Regions from separate parts of the Homo sapiens genome. Here regions 2, 3, 4 and 5 are each linked to region 1. The links are contacts of gene promoters, found by promoter capture Hi-C in human tissues and cell types (Jung and others, 2019). All regions are on one chromosome and are shown on one strand. The core of a region is centred on a gene start or on the middle of the fragment in contact, and the rest is flanking DNA. Distances in the headings are between cores, read along the strand shown.

Region 1 (5,988 bases), core at 2,307-4,806:
GGAAGGGCTTCACAGACAAGTATCCCAAGTTGGCGGGAGAGAGGAGTCACAGAAAAACAAGGCAATAAGACAAGGGCTCTGGATAGCACCTGCAGAGGCACCCAAGACGACGGTGCTGGGTATCCAGGGAGTGACTATAGAGGGAGGAAGGAGGCTGGGACCTGGGCCAGGGAGCCACACGGCCTCCTCCACGCCACCTTGGAGGTGCCCAGACATGCCATGCCAACACCCAGTGCACCTGCAGACTGGGGCCCAGGGCCTGTCCCAGCGCCTGTCCTGAACTCCTGGTTACAGTGCATTTTTTCCCTGGCAAGCATATAGAGCAATTACAGTGCATTTTAGGGGGCTCCCACTGCAGGCCCAGGACCACATCCAACTGCATCATGTATGCACAAGAGACCAGAGCATGGCAGACACGTTGGCAGGAGACTGAATACAGGGAACTCAGCAACCCAAGTAGTGGACCCTGTGAGGCCAGTAGTCCACCAGAGGCAGGAAGTGAGCCAGGCCCTTTTCTACAGAGGGCAGCAGGAAGAATCATGTGGCTGGCAGGGGGAGGAGGCACCAAGAGGAGCACAGGGAAGAAAGGGATGGCCACCAGGAGCGGAATACCATGAGCACCCTGGACTCCAGTCCGGAGGCCAAGCCTGACCAGACTGCAGAAGGCAGACCTGTGAGCGGCACTAGGCTCAGCAGCCACAGAAAGAGTGGGGGGCCAGAAAGCAGTTGCAGAAACACAAGCATAAAATACAAGGCACTCGCCAGCAGGGAGGAAGTCACAGGAAATACAGAAAAGGAGCAAATGACAACTTCTTGAAGGACATGATGAAGAAAGAACAGGACATTTGTCATGAGAAAAAAAAGGGGAAGCTGGGACGGGGGCCTGCAAGAGGTTTGTGGACCTCATTCGGTTTAAGACCAATCCGTCAGTGCCAGGCAGGCCAAGGGCCAGGAGCTGGGGACACAGCTGGAGGTTGGCGTTGTGGCAACAGCAGAGGCCACTGGAGGGCAGGGGGCTTGTTTAGGTCGGCACAGCAGGTGAAGCCAGGTCCTGGAGGAAAGCATGCTGAGAAGGCAGAAATGAAGTCAGAAGTTGAGCCAGTCATGGTGGCTCATGCCTATAATCCCAGCCCTTTACGAGGCAGAAGCAGGTGGATCGTTTGAGGCAACAAGGAGTTTGAGACCAGCCTGAGCCACATGGCGAGACCCTGTCTCTAAAAAAAAAAAATTAGCTGGGCATGGTAGCCTGTGCCTGTAGTCCTAGTTATTCAGGAGGCTGAGGCAGGAGGATTGCTTGAGCCTGGGAGGTTGAGGCTGTAGTGAGCCATGACCACACCACTGCACTCCAGCCTGGGAAACAGAGCAAGACCCTGTCTTGAGGAGGGGAGAAAAAAAAAAAAAAAAAAAAAAGCAGTTGTCTGAATTGGCCAAGTGAAGTCAGAGGTCAGCTCCTGGAGAGCCACAGTAAGCCACGTTTATCCCGAAGAGCCAGGGATAAGCAGGAAAGGCCTAGGCCAGCAATACCGTGTTCTCAATTTCCAGACACCTGCTGGTCAGGCTGCCCAAAGACCTGTGTAGGTCTTGACGGAGAGAGAGGAAAGGAGCTGGGTGCAGAAAAAGGGCTTGGTGGACAAACTCAGGGCTTCAAGGGCAAGCAGCAACAGCTAGAATTTAAGTTCCACATGGGCGGGGATCCCATTTTGTTCACTGCTGTCCTACCAGTACCTGGCACATAGTAAGCGCTCAATCAAGATTGTTTGGATGAATGAGTGACAGCCACAAGCTAATACCCCACAGGTGGCCAGGCAAAATGGAATCTCTGAAGGCATTCTGAGGGCAAAGAACAGAGGAGGCTGGGGGGAAGGGCTCGGCAGCCTGTTGGGAGAAGCCTTGAGTCTGTGGAAAGAGCAGGCGGTGCCTAGGGGGAAGGAGAAGTCTAGACCACTTCTTCCACCACAAATGACCCCTTACTTGCACACGACGGGAAGGCCAGGGCTCACTCACGAATGGCAGACAGGCCCAGGCAGAAGGAGGCCCGCAAGAGAACAGAGAGCTCCAAGCCCCCACCCCACAGGTGTTTACAGTCAGCAGAGACTGTTTGGAGTTCAAACCCTCCACATATCTGCACTAGGAGCCTCCCCAGGCCACCAGGCAGGGTGGGGCAGGGCACGGTCATCAAAGCTAAAACCAGACCTAACCACGGAGGCGGAAATCAGACCAGGCCAGGCCAGTCCACGGAGGCTGAGACTGGGCCAGAACTTAACTCGTCGGACCCACATTCCTGGGCCTAGCCCTAGCCCAAGTGCCATTCTCCCAGGGAGACCAATTGTCACTAAATTGGACGCCCAGGACCTGTCAAGGCCCAATTTCAAAAGCAGGGTGCCACCAAGAACCCTAGAAGGCCCCTTCTCCAAGCCCAGGGAAGCCCCTCCCAACTTCAGGCCTCAGGGAGGGAAAGGAAGGTCATTCATTCACCCCTCCATTCATTAGGACCACAACTGGAAGCCTCAGTCCTGAGGGCAACGACTGGATCCCATAAACTCGGACACCCATGCCACCCTCTCACCCACCTCAGAGCACAGACCCTCTGCAAGCTACACAGCCCCGCCAGCGCCGATGCTGCTGTCTCCCCGCTCCCTCCACTTCCACACACTCCCACCCGGGTCTCCGCGGGCTCTCCGAACCAAGCCCTCAGCCCAGCTTTCCCAAACAGCCCACACAGCGACACGGGTATTGGGCAACTGTAACCAGCTCCAACCGGAAGTACCTGCCTGTGGGTGAGACCCACCTGACCCTCGGGGCCGGCCGCCATAAGGGCGAGGGCTGAGGACCTCCCGTGGGGGACATGGGCTCCCCACCAGCCGGAAAGCTCCAGCGACCGGCTGGGCGTTCCTGGGCCGGACCCGCGCCGCCGCCCGCGCACTGGGGCCTTCGAGGTGTGATGTCACCTGCCCGCAGAATCGGCCCCCCTCGCGCCGCCCCCCTCGCGCCCCCACCCCAGCCTCCCTCTCGCCGCTCCCGGGGCTAATATGGCAGCGGCGCCGCCGCCCCACCCCCGCAACCGCACGACCCGGCTGGCAGGGCCGCCGGCCCGGACCCCCGAGACTCACACCCCGGCCAGGCCCGCACGCCCTGCGCCCCGGACCCCCGGCGGCTCCCCGCAGCCCTCGGGGCGCCGACCCCCGCCCGCTGTCACACGAGGCCCGGGCGCCCCCGACAGCTCGGGATTACGTCAGAGTGACGTCACACACCGGACCCCGGCGAGCTGCGGGCATGAGCAACGCGCGCGCCCCCGCCCCCGAGTCCCTCCCGCCGCCGCGCTCACCGCTGAAGACCATGGCGGCCGAGGCGCCCATGACGGCGAAAAACGAAGCATACTCGGGGCCGCTCTTGGACTCGGACATGTCTGCGGGTGGGGAGGGGGCAAGCTCTGCGGGCCGAGGCGGTGGCGGAGGCGGGGGCGAGGACGGGCCGGGCACGAAGGTTTGCGGGCGGGCGGCGGCGAAGGCGATCCGGCCCGTCAGCCGCTGCGCTCTAAATACCAGCACCGCAGAACAAAATGGCGGCCGCGGCCGCGTCACATGACCTGGGCCCCGCCCCTGCGAGCCGTACCACTTCGCACCGTGGGGGAGACGCGTCCCCGGGACGCCCGGCCGGCCCGTTGACCTCCCCCGGGCTGTGCCGCCCGCCCAGCGACCCGGCCCCGGCGCCCGGCCCCGCCCTGCCTCGGCCTCCGCGGGTGTTTCCGGGCGCCGCCGGCCTCTGGATCTCCGCAGCGTTGGACCGGTCTCGCGCCGGGGCGGGGCGGTGTGGTGTGTGCTTCATTAGCATACGGGGCGGGGCCTCGGACGCCCCGCCTCCTCTGCGGCTGCGCGTCGTCTGCAGGTGTTGGGTTCCCGGCGACGCTTTTCTTTGTACCCCTGGCGTGAAGCTGCAGGCCGTGGTTTCGCGGCCTTGCCCCCAAGACGGGGCCTCACCCCTCCGGGCGCTGGTCTTCCAGGATCTCCCTACCAATCCTGGGCGAGCTAAGGGTCCCAGCAGATGTGCGGCGCGCGGGCCTCCTCTGCCACAGCGTCCGGAAAAGCCCCCAGCCCACACCTGTGAAGTCCCAGCCCGTGGCTGCGGTCACCTCCCTCCACCCTGTCCCCAGTCTCCTCCAGACCCAGACCTACTGCCTCTGACCCAGCAGTTGGTGACTTCACCTCTCGCTTCGGAGAAAAAGGACCCCCTCCCCGCACCTGTCTCTGCCTTTGCATCAGGGACCCAAACATTAGTGGGGTGTGTCTCTGCCCCTCAAGATGTAGGCATGACTGGTGGAAGCCCTGTCGGAACTGCGACCTCTGGAGGCCCCCCGGGCTCTGCACGTTCTGGCGTCCTGGTCCTCCCACCTGTCCTTGCAGCCACCCACTCACGCAAAGCCTGCACCTTCAGGGCCATCTTTCTGTCTTTCTGGAGCAGTTGGAGCGGTTCCCGCAGCCGTGAAAGCAGCCCAGCCAGGGCTGGCGCTGCCCTACTGATCCTGTGTGGCAGTCCCTGGCACCCCCTCTGCCTGATCTCCATTCCCCCTTTCAGGGGCCCTGGGCAGCTGCCACCAGGCCTGAGTGTCCTTTGAGCTCTAAGGCCTCATCCTGGGTTAGAGCTCTCCCTGAGTAGCCTGGATGCTGGCTCATCACCTTCTCTATGTAGGCAATGGGGTCATGGCCCCTGGTCTGGCCCTCCTGCTGGACTCAGCCCCACCTTCCCCAGCAGGAGCCTCCCTCAAGCCCCTTCCCCAGGCTAGCCTGGGTCTGCCACTCTTGGAACTTGCAGCCCGTGAAAGTCCCTAAGTCTGTCCTGGTTCAAAGGAGAGGAGGCAACAGATACGGCCAGAGGCCCTTTCTGCTCCTCCCTCTTTCTTGCCCGGCCCTTGTTTCTGAGAAGACGAATCTTCACTCTGTCTCCACCTCCTCACCTGCCCTTCCCTCTCCAGCTCCTTGCCCTTGCCAAGGTCACTGGTGACCGCCATTTCTCTAAGCAGAAGGACATCTGTCAGGCTGTCCAAGTGGACCTCTGTGCTGCGTGGCCTGCCACCCTCTCCACACACTCTCCTCTCTCCTGCGGACTTCCTAAATCTCAGACGCCCTCATTCTTCCTGGAGTCACAAGGCCCTGTAGCCCCAATTTTGCTGCAGGTCCTGGCATACCCAGGGCTACCCCTAGCTCTGCCCTTCCCCTGCTTGATCCCATCCTTTCCCTGGCTTTGTCCCCCATCTTACGCCGTCTTGTCCCTCACCTGCACCATTCCAGCCCCGACCGCCCTCTGAGTGAGAGCAACACCAGTGCCTGCCCCCATAACTCCAAGCCCTCCAGGAAAGCCTAGGCCAGGAAGGCTGTGCCTGGGGCCGAATTCAGACCAAGGAAAGGTGGCGCAGAGCAGCCCACCATGGAGAAACAGCACAGTCCAAGCTCAGGGGTGGGCTGGGCACGGTGGCTCCCGCCTGTAATCCCAGCACTGTGGGAGGCCGAGGCAGGAGGATTGCTTGATCCCAGGAGTTTAAGACCAGCCTGGGCAACAAAGTGAGACCTCGTCTCAAACAAAACATTGTAGGGTGGGCAAAGAGCACCTAACTCCATTGTGGCTGAAACACCAGGACTGGGGACATGGGGACGTGGAGAGACTTCCCTCTTGCAGGAGCAGGGAGTGGGTCAGCTGTGCTCACTGGCCTCTTACCCATTCATTTTCTGCCTAAGTTCTAGTGTGAGAGGTCACACCGGGTCTCCAGTGTGGCTCCTGACACTTCAAGCTGGCGTGTCTGAAGCTGAGCTCGCCCCCACCCCTTCACCACCACCTTCCACTGGGCTATTTCCATTCCCGCAGAAGGCACGCCCATCCCCCCGCAGCCTGACGTCACGCCACTGCTCCCTCCCCACTCTGTATTACTCAGGATCCCGAGATCCTGCCTCCCCAGCTTGTGTCCGCGCCCGCGCCCCTGCCCCTGCCGCTGCCTGG
Region 2 (5,789 bases), core at 2,881-5,380, 150 kb after region 1:
TAACTGGGAAGTCTATAGTCCCAAGAACTGCTAGCAACTATCTTGGGGCATCAAGAAAGTAATGCTAAGAAGGAAGAGAATTTAAGTGCTGATCACATGATCTGAGACCTGGATCAAGCCTTGTGGTTTTTCATTAAAGAATGAGTTTTGTTCTTGTAGGAAGTTTAAGTTCACTTTTATCCTTTCAAGGCTTGTTTCTAGCCTGAGTTTTACATGTTGATTATTTTATTTTTCATTTCTAGAAGTTCTAGTTCCTTTTTTCTCCCCAAATTTGCTAGGTGACTATAATGACATGCTACCTATAAATCCTTTTACGTTGTCTTTTATTTCTTCAAACCAGCTAAACATAGGGATTTTATAACACGAGACTAATAATTCCATTATCTGGAATCTTTCCAGGTCTGTTTTTGCTGTCTGTTGTCATAGTGATAATCATCCTTGGTGTCCTGTTTCCTAGTATGTTTGCTCACTGACCTTGATACTCTTGTGGTGAGTCTTGAGATACAGAAGGAGGGTACATTATTCCAGGAAAAATATATATTTGCATCTGTCAATCTGAGTCCCACTGTCCCACTTCACAGTTCGAGGGGTTTTTCTTTTCTTCTTTCCTTCCTTCCTTTCATTCCTTCCTTTCCTTCCTTTCTTCCCTTCCCTCTGCCCTTCCTTCTTTCCTTCCTTCCTCCCTCCCTCCCCTCCTTCCCTTCCTTCTTTCTTCCCTTCCCCTCCCTCCCTCCCTCCCTTCCATCTTTCCTCCCTCCCTCCCTCTCTCCCTCCTCTCCTTCTTTCTTCCTTCCTTTTTTTTGACAGCCAAGTGATGTGAATTTGAGCTACAAATCTCAGAGCTAGGACCCTCCCTGCTGTGCTCAGTTCCAAGGCAACATTCAGGCAGTCGGGGGCATGTTTACATCCAGCACAACCTTACATTAAGTACCACCACTACAATGTAAGCATATGGGGTCCTAGATTTAAGGGGAGATAGTCTCATGATATACACCCCACCTTGAATGGGACTTAACTTTTTCTTCTTTCCCTCTGTGCCTTACAAGTCTATGAAAACGAGCATTCGATTTCCCCTAGTATGATGAATGTTTGATCAAAAGCAGTTTAGGGCCTCCACTGATCTCTTTGGGTTCTTTCCTTCATCTAGATTTTTTTTCTTTTTTTTTTGAAATGGAGTCTTGCTCTGTCTGATCTCGGCTCACTGCAACCTCCATCTCCAGAGTTCAAGTGATTCTCATGCCTCAGCCTCCCAAGTAGCTGGGATTACAAGTCGCACCACCATGCCCGGCTAATTTTTTGCATTTTTAGTAGAGACAGGGTTTTGCCGTGTTGCCCAGGCTGGTCTTGAGCTCCTGAGCTCAGGGAATCCGCCTGCCTCAGCTTCCCAAAGTGCTAGGATTACGGGCGCCACTGCACTTCAGCCTGGGCAACAGAGCGAGATTCTGTCTCAAAAAAAAAAAAAAAAGAAAGAAAGAAATTTCATAATCTCATATGTATAAGGTAACTGAATTAGAATACATAGTATTTTAGGATACCAGACAAGCATGAAGCACAACTTTCTTTTCTTTTTTTTTTTTGAGATGGAGTCTTGGCCTGTCGCCCAGGCTGAAGTGCAATGGCACGATCTCGGCTCACTGCAATCTCCACGTCCTGGGTTCAAGCCACTCTCCTGCCTCAGCCTCCCAGGGAGCTGGGACTACAGGTATGTGCCACCACGCCCGGCTAATTTTTTTGTATTTTTAGTAGAGATGAAATTTCACCATGCTGGCCAGGCTGGTCACAAACTCTTGACCTCAAGTGACCCGCCCACCTCGGCCTCCCAAAGTGCTGGGATTACAGACATGAGCTACTGCACCCGGCTGAAGCACAACTTTCAAAACAGTGATTTCCCCACATTTTACCACTGAGGGCATTTTTATTTTTTATTTTTTTAGAGACAGGGTCTCGTTCTGTTACCCAAGCTGGAGTGCAGTGGTGCAATCATAGCTCACTGTAGGTTCAAGAGATCCTCCCACCTCAGCATCCCAAGTAGCTGGGTCTACAAGCATCAACTACCATACCTGGTTAATTTTTTATTTTTTGTAGAGACAGGGTTTCACTATGTTGCCCAAGCTGGTCTCAAACTCCTGGAACTGAAAGCTTTTAAAAGAATTATCCTCACTCAGGCTGGGTGCAGTGGCTCATGCCTGTAATCCCAGCACTTTGGGAGGCCAAGACGGGCGGATGACCTGAGGTCAGGAGTTTGAGACCAGCCTGGCCAATAAGGTGAAACCCCATCTGTACTAAAAATAGAAAACTTAGCCAGGCGTGGTGGCGGGTGCCTGTAATCCCAGCTACTCAGGAGGCTGAGGCAGGAGAATTGCTTGAACCCGGGAGACGGAGGTTGCAGTGAGCCTAGATCTCACCATTGCACTCCAGCCTGGGCAACAAGAGCGAAAGTCCATCTCAAAAAAAAAAAAAAAGGAAAAGAAAAAAAAAATTATTATCCCCATTGAGTGGCACTGAAGCTTGGAGGGAAAAATCTCTATTCACTTTATGCCCTATATATTATTAGAATACTTTTACAATAGCATGTAGAGCAATTATAGTAATTTTGAAAAATTTCTCCTATAAACTACATATTTTGAAGAATGCTATCTACCTAACTACATTAATTTATTCAATAAATATTTATTGAGCACCTACTATGTGCTAGGTACTACAACAGGCACAGTGATGAACAAAACAGACATGGTTCCTATGCCCTCATGGAGGTGGAGTCTAGTGGAGAAAGGCAGACAATACACAGAAGCAAGAAAGTGAATATATATGTAAACATTTATTAAAATTCCCTTTTTGATAGAAAGTATAAAACAGGGTTCTGTGACAGAGAATAAGGCAGAGGTGAGAAACCTAAAACCGATTTAGCTGCTTTCCTAGGCATCAGTTCAGCTGAAACGTGAAGACTAAGAGGGAGCAATGCACAGGGAAGGCTGAGGGCAAAGCACTGTCAGAAGGAACACCTGCTGCAAAGGCCCTATTGGGAGAAAACCTCATGTAGCTGCTTTCTAGGAAGTAAAAGACCAACATGACCAGTGTGTGGGAGCACAATAAAGAGCCAAACTAGATAAGACTGGGAAAAAAGCAGGGTCAGAACCTGGAGAAGAGCTGGTTTTCTTTCAGGGCAATGGGAAGCCACTGAAGGGGTTTAAGCTAGAGACTAGCTGGATCCTATTGAGCTTTTGAAGATCTTTCTGCCTCCACACGGAGACTGGATTAGAATGGGACAAGAGGAGAAGCAGAGACCAGTTAACAAGTTAGAAGCTATTTCAGACCCTCTGACTCTCTGAATGCCTTCCATTTTTTATTAGAGACATATAATTGCCAATCAGACCTTTGGATTAATATGAGATAATAGGTGTCATGATAGTGAGTTAAAAACAAATACTTAACATTTAACATTTTAATTAGCCTTGAAGCCTTCTGACATATATAGACAAGACTCCATATGTTGTTTGAAATAATAAAAATATCTCATGGACAGCTTCCCCCCAACTACCACCTCATAGGCTCTTTAGAATTTGGAGACACTAGATTTAGAATCACTACTGTAAGAACTCTCGGGGAAAAACTTCAAACTGTACTTTATAAAAATGTCCTCCCGATCCTTACCCATATTTACATCTAACCTTCAAACTCAACATCAAAGATCTGTTCCACCATTTCGGTGACAGCCTTCAATGTTTCACTTATAGAAGGGATATAAACTAGTTGAAATCTATTTTTCAGGAAAATTGTAGAAGTCTGGCAACAAACTGATATCAATTGCATGGCAGCTAGTAGCAGGTCTTTTTATTGGAGCACTACTAAAACGAAGATACAATACAATGCAGAAAATAGCAATGGCATCAAGATTTCAAGGACTGCTACCAGAGTCTTCCGTTTCTAAAATAAAAACAAAAGCTAAATGTCAACCCAAAACAGAACACATGTGGTGAATGCTCTTCCATTTAGAACACTTTAATTTCTTCCAGTCTCCCTGCAAAACACACGAAAAAGAAAAACACAGAGTAAGAATTAGCTTGAAACATCTCCTTTTAGCCTTTCTGTAACTCCAATGGCCAGAAATCAGTAACAATGATGTCATCTTTAATAATTACATGACTCATTTGCAGAAAAGGGCCCCTTTCCATGTAAAGTTCTTAATTGTTCTTTAACCCGTTATTATGAACCAATTTAACTTAAACATTCAATCCCCCCCAAGGACTTATATCTTCCCACAGATAACCATACCAACTTTAAGATGAAATCCTTCCAGCGAAGAAGTTTTAACTTTCTGAACACCGTCATTTTCCTAGCTGAAGAGGAGGGCTCATCACTAGTCAGGAAACAAATGAGGGAAAATGTTATGCATAGCACAAAAGTGTTAAGAGTTACTTTTTCGTCCTTGAAAACTTTCTTCTTTGGGGCTTCCAGATCATTGTGATGGACTACTTTTCCTCCTATCATTCTAGGAATTCCTTCTAAGTCTTTTTGCTGATACTTCCTCCTCTTCCCAACCTCTAAATGCACTCCAGGGCTCAGTCTGTGCTCTCCTTAGGTGATCTCACTCAGCTCTTAGATTTGAATCCATCTATATGCTGGTGACTTCTAAATTTGTATCTCCAGCCTAGACCTTGCCTCTGACTCTAAATCCAGATACCCAACTGCCGGCTTAATACTTCCATGTGTTTCATCTAAGTTGACATGCCCAAACTGAGCTTTCTTATTCCTGTTAAAAGATTGTCCTACAGTCTTCTTCACTGTTAACGTCAGTTCCATTCTTTGAGTTATATAGGATTATTATCTTTCTTTTTTTTTTTTTTTTTTAGACGGAGTCTTGCTCTGTCACCCAGGCTGGAGCGCAGTGATGCGATCTTGGCTCACTGCAACCTCCGCTTCCTAGGTTCAAGCGATTCTCCTGCCTCAGCCTCCAAGTAGCTGGGATTACAGGTGCCCACCACCATGCCTGGCTAAGTTTTGTATTTTTTGGTAGAGATGGGGTTTTACCATGTTGGCCAGGCTGATCTCAAACTCCTGGCCTCAAGTGATCTGCCCACCTTGGCCTCCCAAAGTGCTGGGATTAGAGGCGTGAGTCACCTGGCCTGGGCTTATTCTTTTTTAATGACACAGGAAAGCAACATGTTACAAAATGAACTGGTTACAAGCAGTAGGTAGAGGATGACTTCAATTTTAATTAAAAATATATAAAATTATGAACATGTATATAAAAAACTGGAAGGTTAAATACCAAAATATCAACAGTATTTAATTCTATACAGGATTATTGTTGACTTCTCTCTCTTTCACAGCTCAAATCCAGTTAGTCAGCAAATCCTGTTGGCTCTACCCCTGAAATAGACCTAGAATTCAATCCCTTTCACCACCCCTATTCTTATCGTCCCTTGCCGGGATTTCTGCAATACCTTCTTTGGTGGTATCAGTACATCTGCCCTTGCCACTTTGCAATCCATTGTCCATGCAGCAATAAGAGCGACCCTCTTTGAGTCAGATTACGCTTCCTCCTCTGTTCAAAACTCTCTACTGGCTCTTATCTCACTCCAAGCAAAAGCCTTGCCTTACAATGAACTACACAGTTGTACATGGTATAGTTCCTGTTCACTTTCTCATGTCATTCTGTCTCCTAGTTTACTTCTCTCCTTCTCCCTGCTCCTGTGTCACAGGCATAGCTGCTCCTCCTAAAACACACCAAACACACTTTTGCCTCAAAACTCATATCCCTCTGTCAAGTACACACTTCCCTCGTGTAT
Region 3 (6,035 bases), core at 1,820-4,319, 240 kb before region 1:
GCATGCACATCAGAAACACACATGAACCTTGGATAATCGTCATATACTTCACCTCCCAGGTAAGGGCCATTTCCTTGATTCCAAATATTTAAAGATCCTATCAACTATCCTGATATTTTATTCCTTCAATTTCCTTCCTCTCAATAGGATTTACAACAATTTGCAGTTCCTCCCTGTCTTGCCAGCTGTCAAATATTACCTGTTTTCAACTCTGCTCTATTTAAACACATCAAACCAGCCTCCTCTGTTCCAACCGTTCCCATACCTTCTCCATATACCTTGCCCTAAATCTATGTAGAAACCCTCTCTACACCCCACTTTCATTAATGTCCAACCGTTGGCTTTCCCCACCAATCCCCTGGATAGCACTTCCTAGTTTTTCTCTCTCAGCCCTGCCTCTTCCTTCTCTCCTGTGTTAACCCCATGCCTCCTCCCAGGTTCTAGCCTTTCAACTTGTCCCAACCCTAACGTGATTCTGAAAAATTCTCAAGTCCCAGCTTTCCTGGTTAGATTCCTTGGCTACACATACTCTATTCCTTTCTCCTATTACATATACTCTCTTTCTCACCCTCATCCTCTCCAAGATAGTTTCCTAGAACATGCATATATGAGAAAATACTACTAAGAAAAAACCCTAAGGAATACGTAAAGCGGAGAGAGTAATCAAAGATGTAAAAGAACTGGATAGAAGGGAAGGATGCATTTAGAAAATTCCAGAATGAAGAAGCATCATACAAATGTTTGGAAAAATATACTAGCGCATGCGCCTAAGGATGGGTCCCTACCCAAGCCCAGTAGCAGACCCAATATTGAAAGCAGAAGGTGACAGAAGAGGCTAAACCTGGATAAGGCAAGCAGAAATCCAGGAAAAAATGAAAAACTGTATGGCTCAAAAAATCAATTTCTCTACACCCCAATCCTCATTTTCATCTTCTAGTACCAATCCTCCTCACGGTTTAAAACTAGGTCCTTCTTCGCCTCTCCCCTACCCCACTTAATTTCTGCTTCCCCTGCAGCATGTTTTTGACCTGCACTTAATTCTTCAGCTTAACCATTCACCCACACTTCCATACCACCTCACACAAAAATCCCCCCACTCCTTAAGAAAGGAAAACCAGGCCGGGTACGGTGGCTCACGCCTGTAACACCTGCACTTTGGGAGGCCGAGGTGGGCGGATCACCAGATCAGGAGATTGACACCAGCCTGGCCAACACGGTGAAACTCCATCTCTACCAAAAATACAAAAATTAGCTGGGCGGCGGCGATTGCCTGTAATCTCAGCAACTCCAGAGGCTGAAGCAGGAGAATCGCTTGAACCCGGGAGGCGGAAGGTTGCAGTGAGCCGAGATCGCGCCACTGCACTCCGGCCTGCCAACAGAGCTAGACTCCGTCTCGGAAAAAAAAAAAAAAGAAAAACCAGTAGGTGCTAAGCAAAGGATATTAGGTCACAATGTTTCGGAGAACTTTTAGGGAATGAGCCACCTAGTCCACCCCACAAAAAAAGACGACGACCCCACGGCATCTAAGGGGTGTGTTAAGACACAGAAAGTAGGAAGATCAACACCACACACAAATCACCAAACCAAACGATATTACAAAACTCTTAAAGTGGGGGCCATAGACAGTGGATATGCAAAAGTTACCCAAGTTAAAAGCAGAAAGTAAAAAGTACAAAGGAAGACAAAAACACCCTTTTCTGTTGGGAAATTATCCGAGTGGTAAGCTAACAATGAAGTAGAAAGATATATTTGAATTCAACAGTAAAATATGCAAAAAAGAAAACGGTACCAAAAGGGGAGAAAAAGGGGAGACAAGGGTTGTCGAAAAAAATGGACATCAGCAAGCACAGCCAGCTCAGCACCGGGGCGCTCCAGAGCGGCTGAGTGGACACAAAGAACCCAGAAAGCTAAAATAGTAGCTTTAGAAGAGCCCTAAGCCCACGCACTTAGGATGAAAGACAACACAACACTCTGAAATTCTGATCCAGATTCGTCCTAACTGAAGCCGAGTGGAAACCAAGCTTCAGAAGAGCTGTGTGCCAAAGAACGCCTGAAACCAACCAGAAAACTTATATATGAGTCTGGCGTTTTCTTCCCAACGAAGGTCTCCAAAAGCCTCCTTAGTTTGAACACGAATTCTCGGGAGACGTTGAAAAAGTGTAAAAAGGGAACGCACGGTCTACCTTACAAATGTAAACTGAACACGTTCACTTTCTTCACAGTTTTTAAGATTTGGGGTTTCTCCCCGCCACTAACAACTCAAAGGCTGATAGCCGGGAATCCTAAACCATTTAAATCCGGCCCACGAAGTTCAAGGCCCTCCCCGCAGCGCCGGGGGCCTATTTTCGGCCTTGCGGAATGGGGGAGGGGGCTGCGCGGCGTCCCGCAGTCTGGGAGGCCCCCGACACGGGCAGCCCAACGCCGAAGAGAAGCCCGAGGAAAGGAGATCTGGAACCGGGGGCAAGGGTCCAGGAGCAAGCCCCCCGCCGCCGCCCCTTCCCCGCCACTTAAGGGCCGAAAACGGCAGCTGCAGGAAGGCCACCTCGGCGGCACATGTTGGGGGGAGGAGTGAAGCCGAGGCGCGCGCCCTCCCCCCTCACCAAGGGCGCTCGCGAACCCGAGTACAGGCGGCTGCGAACGCCGTTGTCATGGGGGAGGGGCGGGGGGGGGTGAAGCCCGCGCGCGACAGGAACGGCGGGAAGGGGGAAGGGAGGCGAGGGCGTCCGCGCCAGCGAAGGGCGTCGAGCGCGCGTGCGCGCGGAGGAGCTCGGCGGCCTGGGCAGTTCTCCGCGCGCTTTGGCCTCGCGCCGGGGCCGCCGCCCCTCCCCCACCCGGCTCGCTGGCTCCCTCACCCTCTCACCCGCCGCCTCCGCCCGCCGCCTCCGAGGGGGAGAGGTCTTGCCGCCGCCGCTGCTCGAGCTCCCGAGTCCCTCGGGCCTGGGGCCGCCGCCTCGCCTCGCCGGTCCGCCCGCCTCAGCCGACGCCGACGCCTCCTCGCTTCCTCAGGGGCCGCAACGGGCTCCAACTGCGCCACTCGCACCCCGCCTGGGCCGCGCTGCACGTCAGCACGACTAACTGCGTGCGTCAGCACGCAAACGCGCGTCGCGGGGCCTGCCGGGAACTGGAGTGCGCCCCGCGGCCTTTTGCGCAGGCGCCGAAGCCACACCGCGAAGTACCGTTTTTTCAGGCACAAGGAAGGTTTCACCCCGTTGCCGAAAGACTAAGCGTCCCGTTGGCCAGTGCAACGAAGAACGGAGGAAGCGACGTAAGACACCGCGTATTCGTAGGCCTTCCGCTGCGGGGAGGAGCACAGGGCCTAGCGGCAGCAAAGCGACGCCCGAGCGCGTCTCGTCTCCCGCTGTCGATGCAGAGCATTCTGGGAGTTGTGGTTCGGGCGTGTCGCGGAGCCCGGATGTAATTTCGGCTCGGGGCGTGGCGGCCATTTTGTCTCCCCATGTTGGGAGACGATATCCCAGCCGCGGTGGTGCTGCCGCTTTCGTGTGACTTTGGGTTTCCCGAGCGAGCCCGCAGCTGCACAGCAGTCCGCCTTCCCGTACCCGAGAGAAGCCGCCTCAGACCCCAGCCAGCGGGCACCCCCGGAGGCCCCGAGCCTGGCTGCAGGCCCTAGACCTGCACCAGGGGCCCAACCAGTTACCCGTAGCATGGGCCACGTTCTCCCGCTGTAGACCGGGCTGAGGCCCGACGGCCACCCCTGGGGGAGGAGTTTTCTTAGCTTCCGGTAGGGCAGCCAGGCCGGGGTCCCACCAGACCCAGGACGTGATACCGGTGAAGCGGCACATACAGGAACAAGGCAGGAGGAAAATAATAAGCACCTTAAAGTTTCCACTTTTCGGTACCGTACTTCCTGTTAATGTTTCTAAGCCCGTGATTCTGGGCCTGATAATCAGCCAGCCGTCCTCACAGCAGAGTTGTAAGACGCTGGGCTGCTCAAGCACAAGTTCATATCTAGACCCACCGCTGGCGAGCAGCCCTGGACGTCCCGCTTAGCTGTCCTAACCAACTCAGGTGGCCTTGATCCGCAACAGGACGCGGTACCACGTAATGAACTGTCCATTTGAGTGCAAGGATTTATATTTGTTATTACGATTTGGGGGTGTTTTTAAGAGGCAGGGTTTTGCCCAGGCTGTTCTCGAATTTGGGGCTCAAGCGATCCTCCGACCTCAGCCTCCCAAGTAGCTGGGACTACCCGTGCATGACACCCTATCTGGCCCTTGTTTTTTGTTGTTGTTGTTGTTCTTTCTTTTTTCACGTGGTTTCGCACTTGTCACCCAGGCTGGAGTGCAATGGTGTGTTGTCGGCTCACTGCAACCTGTCTCTCAGGTTGAAGTGATTCTCGTGTCTCAGTCTTCCGAGTAGCTGGGATTACAGGCGTGTGCCACCACGCCTGGCTAATTTTTGTATTTTTAGTAAAGACGGGGCTTCACTATATTGGTCAGGCTGGTCTCGATTTCCTGACCTCAGGTGATCTGCCCACCTCAGCCTCCCAAAGTGCTGATATTACAGGCGTGAGCCACCACGCCCGGCCCGTATCCGGCTTTAAGATTTGTTTTTCACTTGCCCGTGGGAGGATGTACTTATCTCAGATGCTAGAGCCGGGAGACCCTCCCCCCCACCACCCCCATCTCCTGCAGGAGCTCTGATCGCAGATTGGAGTGTCTGAACTCTGCATCTATGGACGGTGCTTCTGTAAGCCGGCCGCAACTCTGGAGTGGCATAGTAAAGTGGCAAAGGCTTTGCCTTTCTGGTTAAAGACCCCAGCACCTCCAGTGAGACCCTTTCCTGTACCCCCACTGATATTCTTTATGGAATGTTTTGTGCGTGAGTCAGCACATTTAATGCCCGTGAATAGTGACAAAACATGGTTTGCAGTACCCTAATGACTGATGATGCTGAGAATCTTTTGATGTGCTTGTTGGCCGTTTGTACATCTTTGGAGAAATTTCTCTTCGTGTCTTTTGTCTATTTTATTTTTTTGGGACAGAGTCTCACTCCTAACCCCGGGCTGGAGTGCAGTGGCACGATCTCCACGCACTACAATTCTTGTACCTCAGCCTCCCAAGTAGCTGGGATTACAGGCGCACGCCACCACCCAGCTCATTTTTTTATTTTTAGTAGAGGTGGAGTTTTTTGTAGAGATTGTGTCTCCCTGTGTTGCCCAGGCTGGTCTTGAACTCCTGGGCTCAAACTGTCCTCCCCCCTTAACCTCCCAAAGTGCTGGGATTACAGGTGTGAGCCATGGCACCCAGCCCTAGAATGATTTTTTAGTTTCCCTTTAAACTTTATTTTTTTATTCACTGTAGTGTGGTGGACGGTGGTGCCCCAAAACTTCACAACCACCTAGACATTCGGAAGGTGACCTTATTTGGAATAAGAGATTTTGCAGATGTAATTGAGTTAAAGATCTGAAGATGAAATCATCATGAATTTAGGGTAGGCCGTAAATCCAATGACTGACATCCTTACAAGAAGACAAGAGGACACAGGCACCCGGGGGAAGAGGCCGTAGGAGACCCAGGCAGAGATTCGGAGCGGTGCCCATGCCAGGGATCTCCAGGAGGAGCCAGAAGCTGGGAGAGGCCCTGCAGATCCTCTCCCAGAGCCTTTGGAGGAGGCACAACCCTGTCCACACCTTGGTCTCCACTTTCTGGCCTCCAGAGCTGTAGGGGAACCCACTTCTGTGGTTTGAAGCCACCAAGTTCGTGGTGACTTATGGCAGCCCTAGGAAAGTGACATGCACAGGTAAACCACATTCACTGCAGGAAATATACAAATCAGCAAAAAGAAAAAAAGCACACAGGGGCACCACCCCCAGAGACAGCCATGGCTGACATCCTAGCGGCTGTCACCTCGGAGTGATGTTCCTAAAATGCAAACTTCTGAACTGCTTAAAACTCTTCCAGACACCCTCAGGTTGACATCACAACTCCTTTGTTGGGCCTTCCAAGGCTGGTCCTTCCCGTGGCCTCTTTTCCCTCCGCTCTGTGACAGTCCATGACGGGCACACTTGCCTATGC
Region 4 (6,277 bases), core at 2,445-4,944, 160 kb before region 1:
GCGCTTCGGGGGAGGCGCCCGCGCAGACGCGAGGCCCATAGCCAGGACCACCACCTAGCTGGTGAGCGCGCGGCGAGGCGGGGCGGCCCGGGGTCCCGAGGGTCGGGTGCCGCCTTACCTGCGGCCGGGCGGCCGGGCCGGGGATGGCGGGCGCCGGCCGAGGGCGCTGCTTGGCTGCGGCGGGGAGACCGGGCCTGGGTTGCGTCGGGCGGCGGCCTGGCCGGGGGCGCTGACAGACGCGCGGAGGGCGGGGGAGGCCGGGAGGTGTCACCCGGCCCAGCGGGGTGGAAGTGCCTGGAAAGTTTGTTTTCGGCTTGGCGCAGCCTGGAGCCGAGCCTCCAGGGTTACCTTTCGGTTCTGTCTGTAGAGGAACCGCCCTGGGCTTCCACCTGGAACGGGGTCCTTGGCGCCTCCGCCTGCGAGAGAAGCAGAAGGTGCAAGTTCTTGCTGAAAGCACCTGATGCTCCTGGGCCCCCTTTTCCAGATTCTTGATGACATTGGTCGGGAAAACTCGCCTTTCACGGCCCGGCCAAGGGGCATTTGGGTGCTTTTGCTGCCCGTGGCTGTGCTCAGCGTTGTGGGAAGCCCCTGGGAGGCCGAATGTGCAGGATCACCGAGGGGAAAGTGAGCTTGACAGGTAGGAGGGATTTTAGGGGAAGGATCAAAACAAACCACTTGTTGGGTGAAATGTTTTGCTAAATGTATCGCTGGTGTTTATTTTCTCTCTGTCGCTAAAAGTATCCCTCGTGTTTTTATGTTTTCCATATGCTAAGTTCTACAGTCTGGGGACGACGGTTTAAAAATTTATGCCTTGCATGCGATGTGCAGTGGGTGATGGAAGAACGTCTACATGGCTTTAAAATTGGATTTAAAAGGCAAATATTTTAAATGAAGGAAAACCCAAGAAGTTTACTTGATTCCTTATCTTCCAGGATGCGACTTTTGTTTATTTATTTATTTTATTTTGATGGAGTCTCGCTGCCGTCGCGCAGGCTGGAGTGCAGTGACGCGATCTTGACCCGGGAACCTCCACCTCCCGGGTTCAAGCGATTCTCCTTCCTCAACCACCCGAGTAGCTGGGATTACAGGCGTGTGCCACCATGCCCGGCTAATTTTTGTGTTTTTAGTAGAGACCGGGGAAGGTATGGGCCCTCTTTTGAGAAAAATGCAGAGTGACACTGAATTTTGTAACTACATCAGGAGGCTCTTGAACCTTCTGCAGCTCACTCGTGGAGTTTGTAGAGATGCGTAATAATCCGAAGTGTTAAGGAAGAAGGTTCTGTTGAGAAAAAGTTGGAGGGCTGAAAGGGATGCCTTTCGCTATTTCGACATGTGTGGCTGTACCCCAGAGTGCCCTGGCTAACACGCAAAACCATGAATTAGGCGGCTTGGCGAGGCTCAGTGGAGGCTGGGGCCGAGAGTCATGTCAAAGTTTGTGGGGTTAACCTGCACCCAGTGACAGTCATGGCGAAGTTTGTGAGGTTAACTCGCACCCAGTAACGCTGTTCCAATGCAAGGTGTGTATTTGGTGTCATCCACGGGAAGAGGAAACAGCAAATTTTCTCATGGCCTTGGCAGTTCCACATGATGGACATTTCATATCTGCAGTTTTCTTCGCATGAGATGGCTTTTTTGCACAAAAACACTGGAATCCAGTGAGCAAGAATGATAGAATGCAAGATGGATTTCCACATGAGGAAGTGTCACGAACAAGCGTTTTGCATCTCTGTCAGCTGGATTCCCCCATGTGTACGTATGTGAGAACATGCCGTGTTTCCTGTCTGTAATGGTAGAGGCAGCCCTGATACTGGATTTTCACCTGAGGATGGATAGATCTTCAGGGTTCAAGTGGGTTTGCATCTGGACTTTAGGGTGGCCCTGTAGGCCCTGTGTGAGAAGCCCCCTTCCCAGTGAACTTTCCCTTGTGTGCCCGCGTGGACAGCCAACAGGGGGAGCAGTGCGAGCGTGAAGGCAGACAGTGGCCTGGCCCAGTCTGATGGTAAGTGGGCCAGAGGCAGTGAGTACCATTTCTTGATCTGACTACTCAAGACAGGCGCTTCCCTAGGTACTTTCACACCTCATTGCGAGGTACGTGTTGTTCCCATTTTACAGGTGCAGAAGCTGAGCTGCAGAGGCGTTAGGTACCTGCCTCATAAGTGGTAGAGACTCCAGTGTCACCCTGCCCCTCACGTTCGGAGCCCCCGAGGGAGGGTCTGCCGGGCAGCTCAGCCCAGCACTCTGTAAGGAAATCTTCAGTGCCACTGCCCAGGATGTCTTCCCGGGGATTGGGCCTGAATGTCTTGACCATGCCGTGCTGGAGGTAGGAGGGGTGTCTTCATATGGAAGAACTGTACATATTTCTTTGGCAGATGGCTGAACTCTGTGACCCCGGGGCCTGTTTCAGCCTCCTGCTGTCAGAAAGCAGCTGTTTGGGAAGAGGCTGTGATTCGGCCTTGTTTGAGGGCCGATACTCTGAATGGGTGAGGCTTGGAATCCTCCCTTTGGAACAAAGAAACATAATGATTTTGCTGAAGGTAGAATTGGGGGACTAGGCAGAGTGGCCTCCTGCCCTCCCTGGGGTGGTTCTGTCTTTTGCAAAGGTGGCTGCATCCTTAGGGGAAGGTGAGGGGAGAAGCAGGGAGCATGGAGAGAAGTGGCTTTCGATTTTCTCTCTCCTTTTGGGGAGTTCCTCCTTATGTGGCTGGTCTGGTGCATAGTGTGATGTATTCCTGTACGCAACGTTGCCCTGACAGCCAGTCCAAGCTGAGTCTAGAGCTGGCAAGGTGAGCTCCCAGTAGTAAGAGGGTGTGGGCGGCAAGCCACCCAGGCACCGAGGCAAGAGACAGAGGACACGAGCTGTTCCAGTATAATAAAATATAAAACAAGAATAGTTATACCAGATATAGATCTTAGATATGATTATATATGAATATCATTAATCATGAGTTTGCAGCAATTACTTTTTATTCCAATATTATGATAATCCTCGCTCTATAATCATAGCCTAGGAAAAACCAGGCCATACAGAGGAGCTGAGGGGACATAGTGAGGTGTGACCAGAAGACAAGAGTGCGAGGCTTCTGTTATGCCCGGACAGGGCCACAAGAGGGCTCCTTGGTCTAGCGGTGACGCCAGCGTCTGGGAAGACGCCCGTTACCCGGCGGATCGTGGCCCAGTGGTAGCAAAAGGTGTCAAGGAACAACACTCACTACTTAGCAGACCGGGAAAGGGGCGGGGGGGGGGTCTCCCTTTCCCCGGGGGAGTTTAGAAAAGACTCTGCTCCTCCACCTCTTGTGGAGGGCCTGACATCAGTCAGGCTTGCCCGTAGTTATCCGGAGGCCTAACTGTCTCCCTGTGATGCTGTGCTTCAGTGGTCACACTCCTTGTCTGCCTTCATGTTCCATCCTGTACACCTGGCTCTGCCTTCTAGATAGCAGTAGTAAATTAGTGAAAATACTAATAGTCCCTGATATGCAGAAATAATGGTATAAGCTGTCTTTCTCTCTGTCTCCTCTCCCTCTCTGCCTCGGCTGCCAGGCAGGGAAGGGCCCCCTGTCCAGTGGACACGTGACCCACGTGACCTTACCTATCATTGGAGGTGACTCACATTCTTTACCCTGCCCCTTCTGTCTTGTATCCGATAAATAACAGCGCAGTCAGACATTCGGGGCCACTACCGGTCTCCGCGCATTGGTGGTAGTGGTCCCCCGGGCCCAGCTGCCTTTTCTCTTATCTCTCTGTCTTGTGTCTTTATTTCTACACTCTCTCATCGCCACACACAGGGAGAGACCCACCGACCCTGTGGGGCTGGTCCCTACATCTGGCGCTCTGACGTGGGGCTCTCCCTCGCTGTGTGAAGTTGCACCCTGAGTGCGGGATCAGCGGAGGAGTTCAACGAGAGATTCCTGAGGATTGCAGTCTATAAACTTGGTGGTAAGCTTGAGCACTCAGTTTTCTGGGGACACCATGGGACAGGCCAGTACAAAGTATTTGGCTTATTTAAATTTTATAAAAACTCTTCTTAAAGAAGGAGGTGTTAAAGTTTCTACTGAAAAGTTAATTGAACTATTTGAGGTTGTAGATCTTCTTTGCCCTTGGTTTCCGACTGAGGGAACTCTAGAACTTAAAGATTGGGTTGAGATTGGCAAACAATTCAAAATTGCTCATAAAGGGGGACATTTTATCCCACCCACCATTTGGTCAATCTGGGCTTCGGTTCACTCTGTCTTAGACTCCTTACAGACTCAGGAGGACAATATGGAGACTGATCCCTCTTTCCTCTCCTCTGAGGGAGGTCGAGGAAGCGCTCAGCTCTCTTTCCCCTGAGGATACTACACAAATTGAGAACGTAATTTCAAAGGAGGACTTCCACTCTGACATGCCTGCACCACTTCCACCTACACCAGAGGCTACTGCACCCCCATTGCCGCTTTATGATGATCTTTTAACTGACCTAAATATACTAATCTCCCCCAATCAGCAAAACTCAGCTGAAACATATCAACAGCCATTGCAGCCAGACCCTCCTGTCTCTCCTCACTGTTTCAACGCTGCCGCTGTGCAAATAGCAGATGAGACCAGGCAGCCTGTAAACGAGTCTATAAATTATGTTTCTATGCAGCCCGGTACAGAGGCTCCGCTATATGAACAGCTCAGAAAAGAGGCTTCCAATTCTCGGCCCGGTAATGAGGCCCTCAATCCTATTTCTCCTAATCGGACTCAGTTAGAGTCACAGACTCCCTTGAAGCCCTTTCCTATAAATCAGACTCGAGTAGAGTCACAGTCTCCCTTGAAGCCTGGTTCCTTTCCTGCAAATCGGACTCAGAGTCACAGGCTCCCTTGAAGCCTGGTCCCTTTCCTATAAATCAGACTTGGGTAGAGTCACAGGCTCCCTTGAAGCCTGGTTCCTTTCCTGCAAATCGGACTCAGAGTCACAGACTCCCTTGAAGCCTGGTTCACACTTGCCGTGGCAGCCTGGTTTTCAGGCCCATGAAAGACCTGCTCAGCAGGTAATCTGCTGTCACCCTGGCTTTCAGTTTTTTGACTCTCCTTCTATTCAAAATTCTACCTCTTTTTCTGCTCCTGGTCCGGTCGCAACTGCTGTTGCCAATACTACCATTGCCGCTCATAAGCAACAAATTACATACATCCCTGAAGATGACACTCCGCTTATGAGGGCTATAGTTCAAGCAAGGGAATATGGGGATCCTGAAACTTGGCAATTTCCTGTAATTTTACAACCTCCAGTACCTGCCACCCCAGCAGTACAAAACCACCCACAGCCTGTTGTTGATCCTGCCCAGCAGGCGGCTGACCCCGCAGCTCAACAAGATCAAGAGGCTGATAATCAAGCCCCTCAGCCCGAAACTCAGGCTGCTCAGGTAAATAATCAGCCTCCGCAGTTGCCTGCTCCTGGGGCACAGCCAATACCTGGCATTCCCGCTGTTCAGGTGGTAATTCAGCCTGACCCCATCCATCCAGGCCAGGTTCAGCTACGCCCTGCTACATGGGAAAGTTTTTCTTTTAAATTCCTCAAAGATTTTAAAGAATCAGTGAAACAATATGGCACCAACTCTCCTTTTGTCCGTTCCACATTAAAAGCCTTAGGAGAAGATAAACGTTTGGTACCCTATGATTGGGAAATTTTGGCAAAATCAAGTCTTATCTAAATCCCAATATTTACAGTTCAGGACTTGGTGGGTTGATGCTGTCCAGGAACGCATTTGTCTTAGGGCACTAATCCTCCTGTTAACGTTATGGCTGACCAGTTACTGGGAATGGGTCAATGGGCCGCAATCCGACACCAAACTATACTAAATGATGAGGTTATTGAACAACTGCGAAAATTGTTGCTTAGATGCTTGGGACAAAATTCAAGATGATGGTAAAGTATGCCCATCTTTCACAGCCGTCAGACAGGGACAACATGAGCCCTACCCAGACTTTATTACTCGTCTTCAAGACGCAGCAGAAAAGGCTATTCCTGATAGCCACGGCCAAAGACTTGTTGTAGAACTTATGGCTTATGAACAAGCAAATCCAGATGGTCAGGCGGCTGTTTGCCCCGCCAAAGGTAAAATTCCACCGGGTGGTGATATACTCACCTCCTACATTAAAGCCTGTGAAGGGGTGGGAGGAACTCTCCATACAGCAACGATTATGGCACAAGCTATGGCCTCTATTCGAATGCCTGGACAATTCTCTGGCCAATGCTTCATATGCGGCCAGAAGGGACATGCAGAAAGAAATTGCCCTCGGCGTGCAGGTGGCCGTCCTT
Region 5 (5,673 bases), core at 366-2,865, 180 kb before region 1:
CCGTGAACACAGGACGGGGGCTCAGACGCCCCAGGCAGCCCCCATGGGGGAGACGGAAGAGGCAGTTTCTGTCTTGTCGGCTACACATCTGATGGGGGGACTGCGAAGCTGGCACAGCCTGTCTTCTACACAGACTCAGACCTTCCGTGTGGCTCTGCTGGGGCAGCTCCTGCCTCCCCCCACATGCCTGCAAGGGTCCTGCTCCCACCTGCGAGCCACTCCCACAGGGGCTGGTGCCTGCGGGTGCCCTGGAGGCCGGGGAGCTGAGGCCTCCGTTCAGAAACACCGGCAGCCTCCCCGGCGAGGCCCAGGGCCAAGCGCTGGAGAAGCAACCCCACACCCCATTCGGAGCAGGAGCAGCCCCCTCACCAGATGGTGGCTCCTGTGGGGCCATGGGCAGGCGCTGGCCACGGGAATGCCAGGCTCGCAGATATGGGGAGGCCGAAGGTGTCTCCACCACAAAGCACGGGGCCACGCTAGGACCCTATTTTCATCCATGGACAAATTCTGCCATTTGGGTGCTAAGACCTAGTGGTCTCAAGAGATTTTCCCAAAGTCCACCACCGCAAACCTGCAACAACCTGCTCTTTTTAGATCACAGGGACTGAGTTTTGTGGCTGAGATAAAATCAATTAGGGCTCCGGGCATGGGGGCGCTGGACCCGGAGCCTCGGCGGCCCCCCTACTCCTTAGGGTGACCCCAGCTCCACACAGACCTGACCCTATCCTCCTTCCCCACCCTCCCCCGGAACACTCCAGCCAGAGCTGCCCACCCCACAGGCCCTGCCTCCTGGGCTTGGCCCTGCCTTTCCCCAGCCCTCCAGACTCCACAGCTCTCAAGCAAGGGCCGGGGCCACAGGGCCAGCTCCCGGGAAGAGGACGCTGGGCGGTCCTGCGCAACTGCTAAAAAATGGACACCATTTCCCACAAAGGGGCCCAAGTCTGGCAAGGCGGCCAGTGCTGCCACCCGAGTCCAGGGTTCCTCCCTGCCCCACCCCCATACAGAGAGAATGCTGGCCGCGTGACGTCCGCACACCGCTCAGCTCAGGAATTATTCACGGCTCACTGCTACCTCGACAGACCGCTGGCAGGAGGTCAGGAAAGATCAGATAGGGCGGAGGCTCGCCTCTGCCCAGGACAACCCCAGAGAACCCCTTTGTCAGCCATGGAGGCCTCCAGGCCTGGCCTCAGTGGTCAGACTGCAGGCTCACAGCCAGGCCACCCCAAGCCTCAGTTTCTTTACGAGCAAAAGGTGGGGGAGACCAGCTCGTGTAGCTCGGGGCCGCCATGAGTGCCAGGGCACCCAACCTGTGGCAGGACCTGGGCACTGAGCCGTGACCTCTAGGCCAAGACAACCCACCATGTGCTTCTCAGGCCCTGGGCCGGTGCAAGAGGAGAAGGAAGCGTGCTGGGCGCCCCCAGACACACGAGGCAACCCCAGCCCTGCAACTGGAAGGATGAAGGCAGGAGGGAAGGAGGGCAGGGTGGGGACGGCCATCGGCGGAAACTGCACAGCAGGACAGAGGAACACAGACAGGTCCAAGGAGCCGGCAGGGCACTGAGCGTGCTGGCACTGGGCTCGGCCTCAAGACGGGCAGGCAGGGGTAGGCCGCTGCCGTGTCTTGGCCACTCCTACCACTGGGCGGGGCTGGCTTTTCCATTAAACACCCCCTTTAGGAGGCAGCTTTTGTGGCTGATGCTTTGAAGGAACTCCTGACCTCAGTCTGGCCACAGCTGGCCCAGTGCGGTGATGCCAGCAGCAGGCCAACTGGTGCAGCTGCTGCCATCACGTGATACCTGCCGCTGCAGGGAGGGAACAGGGAGGAGGCGAACAGACCCCACTCCCCACACCATAGCCCACTGCCCTCAGCATGGCAGGAGAGCAGCATGGTTGGGTGGAGAGGGGCCCCGATGCAGAGCTGGGGCTGTGCTTCGGGGGCCTGGGGTGGGTAGTGAGAGTGGCACCAGCGGTGAGGACCCAGCCAGTGGCACAGCCATCACACCCACCCCACTGAAGATGTCAGGTTCCCGGGCCTCGGGAGGAGGATCTGCGTGGGGCTGCCTGGGGCTGCAGCCCTGGGGTTCGCCCCACCCAAACTATGGCTGCAGACCCGGGCTTCCCGCTCCACGGAGCAGGCAGGCCCACAACTGCAGCTGCCCAAACCACAGCCTCAGGCATCCCTGCACTCTTGGGGGCCCAGAAAGGCCCCTCTGCCGGGCCCTTGCAGGCTCAGAAGTGCCTGCTCTCACTGCCTGGCTTACTCCTATTGTTGGTGCCTGCTCCGATCTTGGAGCAAAGTTGGGGCCGAGCCCAGGCGCCATGTATGGCAGCAGGAGGCAGATAGATTCCTGGGAAGAAGGGGGTAGGTCCCCGGTAAGGCCCCACCTTCAGGCCAGGGAGGGCATGAAGGCTGGGGCCGGGCTGCCAGTCCCGGGGACCAAAGTGGGGACTTGTGGTGCGTTTTCCGGGCCTGCCCATGAACCAATTAGTATGCACTTCCTTCCCTCTGGGTCCATAAGAGCCCTGGGCTCAGCCAGAGCAGGGCAGAGGACAAAGAGGACAGAGACAATTGGCAAGTGGAAGACCAGCTGCAGAGGGAAGCTACCCTCTCTGCTGAGAGCTGGGAAGTCAATGGAGAGGAGCCAGCCAGTCCGGGGCCGCTTCTCTGCTGAGAGCTGCCAACTGAATGAGCCGACCTGCCTACAGAGAGGAGCTGCCCCCACAGTCTCCTCTGCACTGTCCCAACACTTGGTAAAGCTTCTCTTCGTCATGCTCACCCTCCACTTGTCTGCTACCTCATTCTTCCTGGACGCAGAACAGGAACTTGGACAAAGGTGCTGCCGGCCAGAGACGTTTCTGGCCAGAAAAGCGACACCCTAAAGACACCGTATCAGCAGGGCTGGGCACATCCAGACACAGGGACGTGGAGCTTTGCAAGGCCAAGTTTACCAGCCGGAGCCATGGCACCTTTCCAGGGTGCCTGAAGAGAGATCCTGCTGGCAGTGAGAGCTCTGGCCACAGTGGCTAGGCTCTGCCCAGCTCGTCTCAGTCCCTGGAGCTCAGGCTCCTGACAGAGGGACCAGGAAGCCCCCGGACGCACCTGTGTGGGAACCGCACGCCCCAGGAACCTTCCTGATGCGCTTTCCCTGCAGCCTGTGGCTCCAGCCCATCCCTGTGCTCAGGGGCCAGCAGCCTGGGTGCAAAATACCCAGCCATCAAAGGCAGGGGAGGCTGAGGCACCGCGGGGGACCCCACGTGCATCCAGTTAGGAAGAGACTTGAAAGGAGCAGCCTCTGGAAGACTTCCAGGAGTCCAGATGCTTGTTGCCAACCTCGCTGGGAGCCAAGGCTGCAGGGCAGAGGAGCAGAGAACCCCAGCTGCGTCTACCAAGAACCTGCCAGCCGCTCCACACCCCCGCCGCCCCAGTGCCTCCAGGACAGTGGGCTTCCTATGGGGCCCCCGCCACAGTACACTCCTCCCACGTGGTTCAATTCTCTGAGCCCCACGACCTCTGGGCCCATGCAGGACCTACCCAGGCTGCGTGGACTCGGCGCGCCGGGCCTGCAGCTGCCCCCACAGCCCTCTCCCGGAGTGACACTGCAGAGCCCTGCGTGGCCCTAGAACCCAGCTGAGCCGCCGGGCACCAGAGGCTGAAGGGCGAGCAGTAGGCTGAACCCTTGGTGGGAAATTCCAAAACTGGCTCTTCTGTGGCTGGCCTCACAGCTCTCCGGCCGTTTCTTCCCATGGGTTCCTTCTAACTGGTGGGTTTCCTCGAGAAACAGGCCCTGTCTGGGCAGAGCGGAAGGTCAGGGACATCCGCACCAGGGCGGGGAGGCAGTGGCGTGTGGAGGTGCTGCTCTCACCACTGCTCTCTTTGAAGCTTTCAATGAGAGATTTCCACATCCATAGGAAGTGCCAGGGTCTTAAACCAGGACCCCCAAATCCCACCAGGGTTCGGGTCTCGCTGTGGCCTGACTCGCTTCCAAGCATGTAGGCAGGGTCTTGGTGCTCCCAGCTCGGGTGAGCCCACATGTTCCAGATCGGCCTAATGTGTGCGGGGGCTACTCGTGGTGCCAGCCCAGGCCCAGACAGTGCCCAGCCCAGGCGCGAGGGCCTCGGCAGCTCACTGCTGGTGTTGGGGATGTGGATCAGCCTCCACCCTGATGCAGAAACAACAAAAAAATATGGAACATGGGAAAATGGGAAACACAAAATCATACAAAATTCAGGATATACTCCGAGGCTCATGGAGACAAAGGCAGCAAGGTCACCTCGGGGAGGTTTAGAACAGCGTCTGGGCCAACCTAGGCAGGGCCCCTGTGCTGCCCGTAAGGCCATCAGCGGCGCCTGCCCAAGCCCCCATGACACGAGGAAGGAAAGATGCCCCGGCCCGCTCACGCCTCTACGACTGGGATGAGGAGAGGCGGCCAGGAAGCCAGTGAGATGCTGCGGGCTGGGCGTGGGGGTGCTCTTCTTCCTGGCTTTCTCATACGTTCCACGGCTTACACAACCAGCACAGGCTGCGCTTGATCTCAGGAAGGTTCGTGGTGGTTTTTTTCTAAAACAGCCATAATTAAGACTGTTTTATTGACAAGTCATTTCCCTCATCTTCCCCGCGTCTCACTGAATTGGCATCTGACCTACTTGTGGCCGGGCCCAAGCTGGCATTGAGTGGGCCCAGCAGGCTGGGCTGAGCCACCCATCTCCAGAGGTCCCAGGCTTCAGCCGGAGCCACAGGACGTAGGCCGGGCAGGACAGTTGCCAAACCACAGAGGAGAGGGCGACCCTGGCCACGGGAGCACATGGCAGACAGCGCCGAGCCAGGGCACACACAGCCCTGGCAGACGGAGGAAGACTCCGCAGACAGAGCTGACTGCTCGCCCACTCCCCAGGTCCACAGGGCAGCCGCAGATGGACGTCTGGTCAGGAGAGCAACACTCAGAGAAGTGTGGTAACAAGACTGGCCGCTCTGCTCATCTCACCAGACTCCGGCTGCAGCTCTCCGCCATCCATGCTGTCACCCAGCAAAGCACCGGGGGCAACGTGGGGGTTCCCCAGCCTCTCAGGGACAGGTCCCTAATGCAACCAGCAGCCTTGAAAATGGCAGTGAAGGGCTGGGCACAGTGGCTTACGCCTGTGATCCCAGCACTTTGGGAGGCCAAGGCAGGCGGATTACCTGAGGTGAGGAGTTCAACACCAGCCTGACCAACATGGTGAAACCCTGTCTCTACTAAAAATACACAAATTAGCCAGGCATGGTGGAGGGTGCCTCTAATCCCAGCTACTAGGGAGGCTGAGGCAGGACAATCACTTGAACCTGACAGCCCCGTTGCAGTGAGCCAAAATTGTGCATTACACTCCAGCCTGGGCGATCCAGTGAGCCTCTGTCTCAAAAAAAAAAAAAGAAAAGAAAACGGCAGTGAGGAATGAGGGTGGAGACTGCCAGGCTCTCACGCCAGATTCTGAACCCAACATAACCCTGCTGCTGCCCAACCCTCCCGCAGCTCCCAGAGCTCTGCAAAGAGGGTCGGCCCTGCGGCTCTCAGTCATTCCCGGTGCTCGGAGACACGTGCCACCAGAGGGGAACGAAATCAAGAGGGTGCAGTGCCCTGAGCCAATCCAGGAGATAAACTCTGTCAAATTGCCCCACAGAAATCTAGACGCGAAGGCATA

What was found. Contacts are between HindIII fragments. The study calls those that stand out against the background at their distance.
Region 2: a contact is called between a fragment that was not itself captured here and the fragment with the promoter of ATP6V0C in region 1, in 2 of the 25 tissues and cell types used here (dorsolateral prefrontal cortex and liver).
Region 3: a contact is called between the fragment with the promoter of SRRM2 here and the fragment with the promoter of ATP6V0C in region 1, in 1 of the 25 tissues and cell types used here (dorsolateral prefrontal cortex).
Region 4: a fragment that was not itself captured here is called in contact with the fragment with the promoter of ATP6V0C in region 1 in 2 of the 25 tissues and cell types used here (bladder and dorsolateral prefrontal cortex).
Region 5: a fragment that was not itself captured here is called in contact with the fragment with the promoter of ATP6V0C in region 1 in 1 of the 25 tissues and cell types used here (dorsolateral prefrontal cortex).

What each region holds. Positions count from the first base shown.
Region 1 is chr16:2,511,520-2,517,507 of GRCh38, reverse strand. It overlaps ATP6V0C (ATPase H+ transporting V0 subunit c), which reads right to left and starts at 3,556. Exons shown (of 3, transcript NM_001694.4): 1 at 3,326-3,556. The coding sequence starts at 3,404. RefSeq lists silencers at 2,801-2,940, 3,361-3,840 and enhancers at 4,746-5,040, 5,831-5,988. The HindIII fragment of the contact is 15,008 bases long and covers 1-5,988 here.
Region 2 is chr16:2,359,684-2,365,472 of GRCh38, reverse strand. It overlaps the pseudogene ABCA17P. Among named protein-coding and RNA genes, the nearest start is that of ABCA3, 22 kb to the right of the region's middle. The HindIII fragment of the contact is 3,614 bases long and covers 2,324-5,789 here.
Region 3 is chr16:2,749,672-2,755,706 of GRCh38, reverse strand. SRRM2 (serine/arginine repetitive matrix 2) reads right to left here and starts at 3,069. Exons shown (of 15, transcript NM_016333.4): 1 at 2,861-3,069. SRRM2-AS1 (SRRM2 antisense RNA 1) reads left to right here and starts at 3,107. Exons shown (of 6, transcript NR_027275.1): 1 at 3,107-3,265. RefSeq lists enhancers at 1,661-2,503, 2,504-3,346, 3,228-3,517, 3,578-3,747, 3,347-4,189 and silencers at 2,658-2,717, 2,738-3,047. The HindIII fragment of the contact is 13,386 bases long and covers 1-6,035 here.
Region 4 is chr16:2,667,067-2,673,343 of GRCh38, reverse strand. It overlaps ERVK13-1 (endogenous retrovirus group K13 member 1), which reads left to right. Exons shown (of 3, transcript NR_040023.1): 1 at 1-61; 2 at 774-3,933. LOC124903627 (a long non-coding RNA gene) reads right to left here and starts at 221. Exons shown (of 2, transcript XR_007064945.1): 1 at 119-221. RefSeq lists silencers at 1-254, 3,252-3,468. The HindIII fragment of the contact is 5,955 bases long and covers 717-6,277 here.
Region 5 is chr16:2,689,415-2,695,087 of GRCh38, reverse strand. All of the region lies in intron 1 of KCTD5 (potassium channel tetramerization domain containing 5), which reads right to left. Among named protein-coding and RNA genes, the nearest start is that of KCTD5, 9.7 kb to the right of the region's middle. RefSeq lists enhancers at 952-1,769, 1,770-2,588. The HindIII fragment of the contact is 3,408 bases long and covers 1-3,319 here.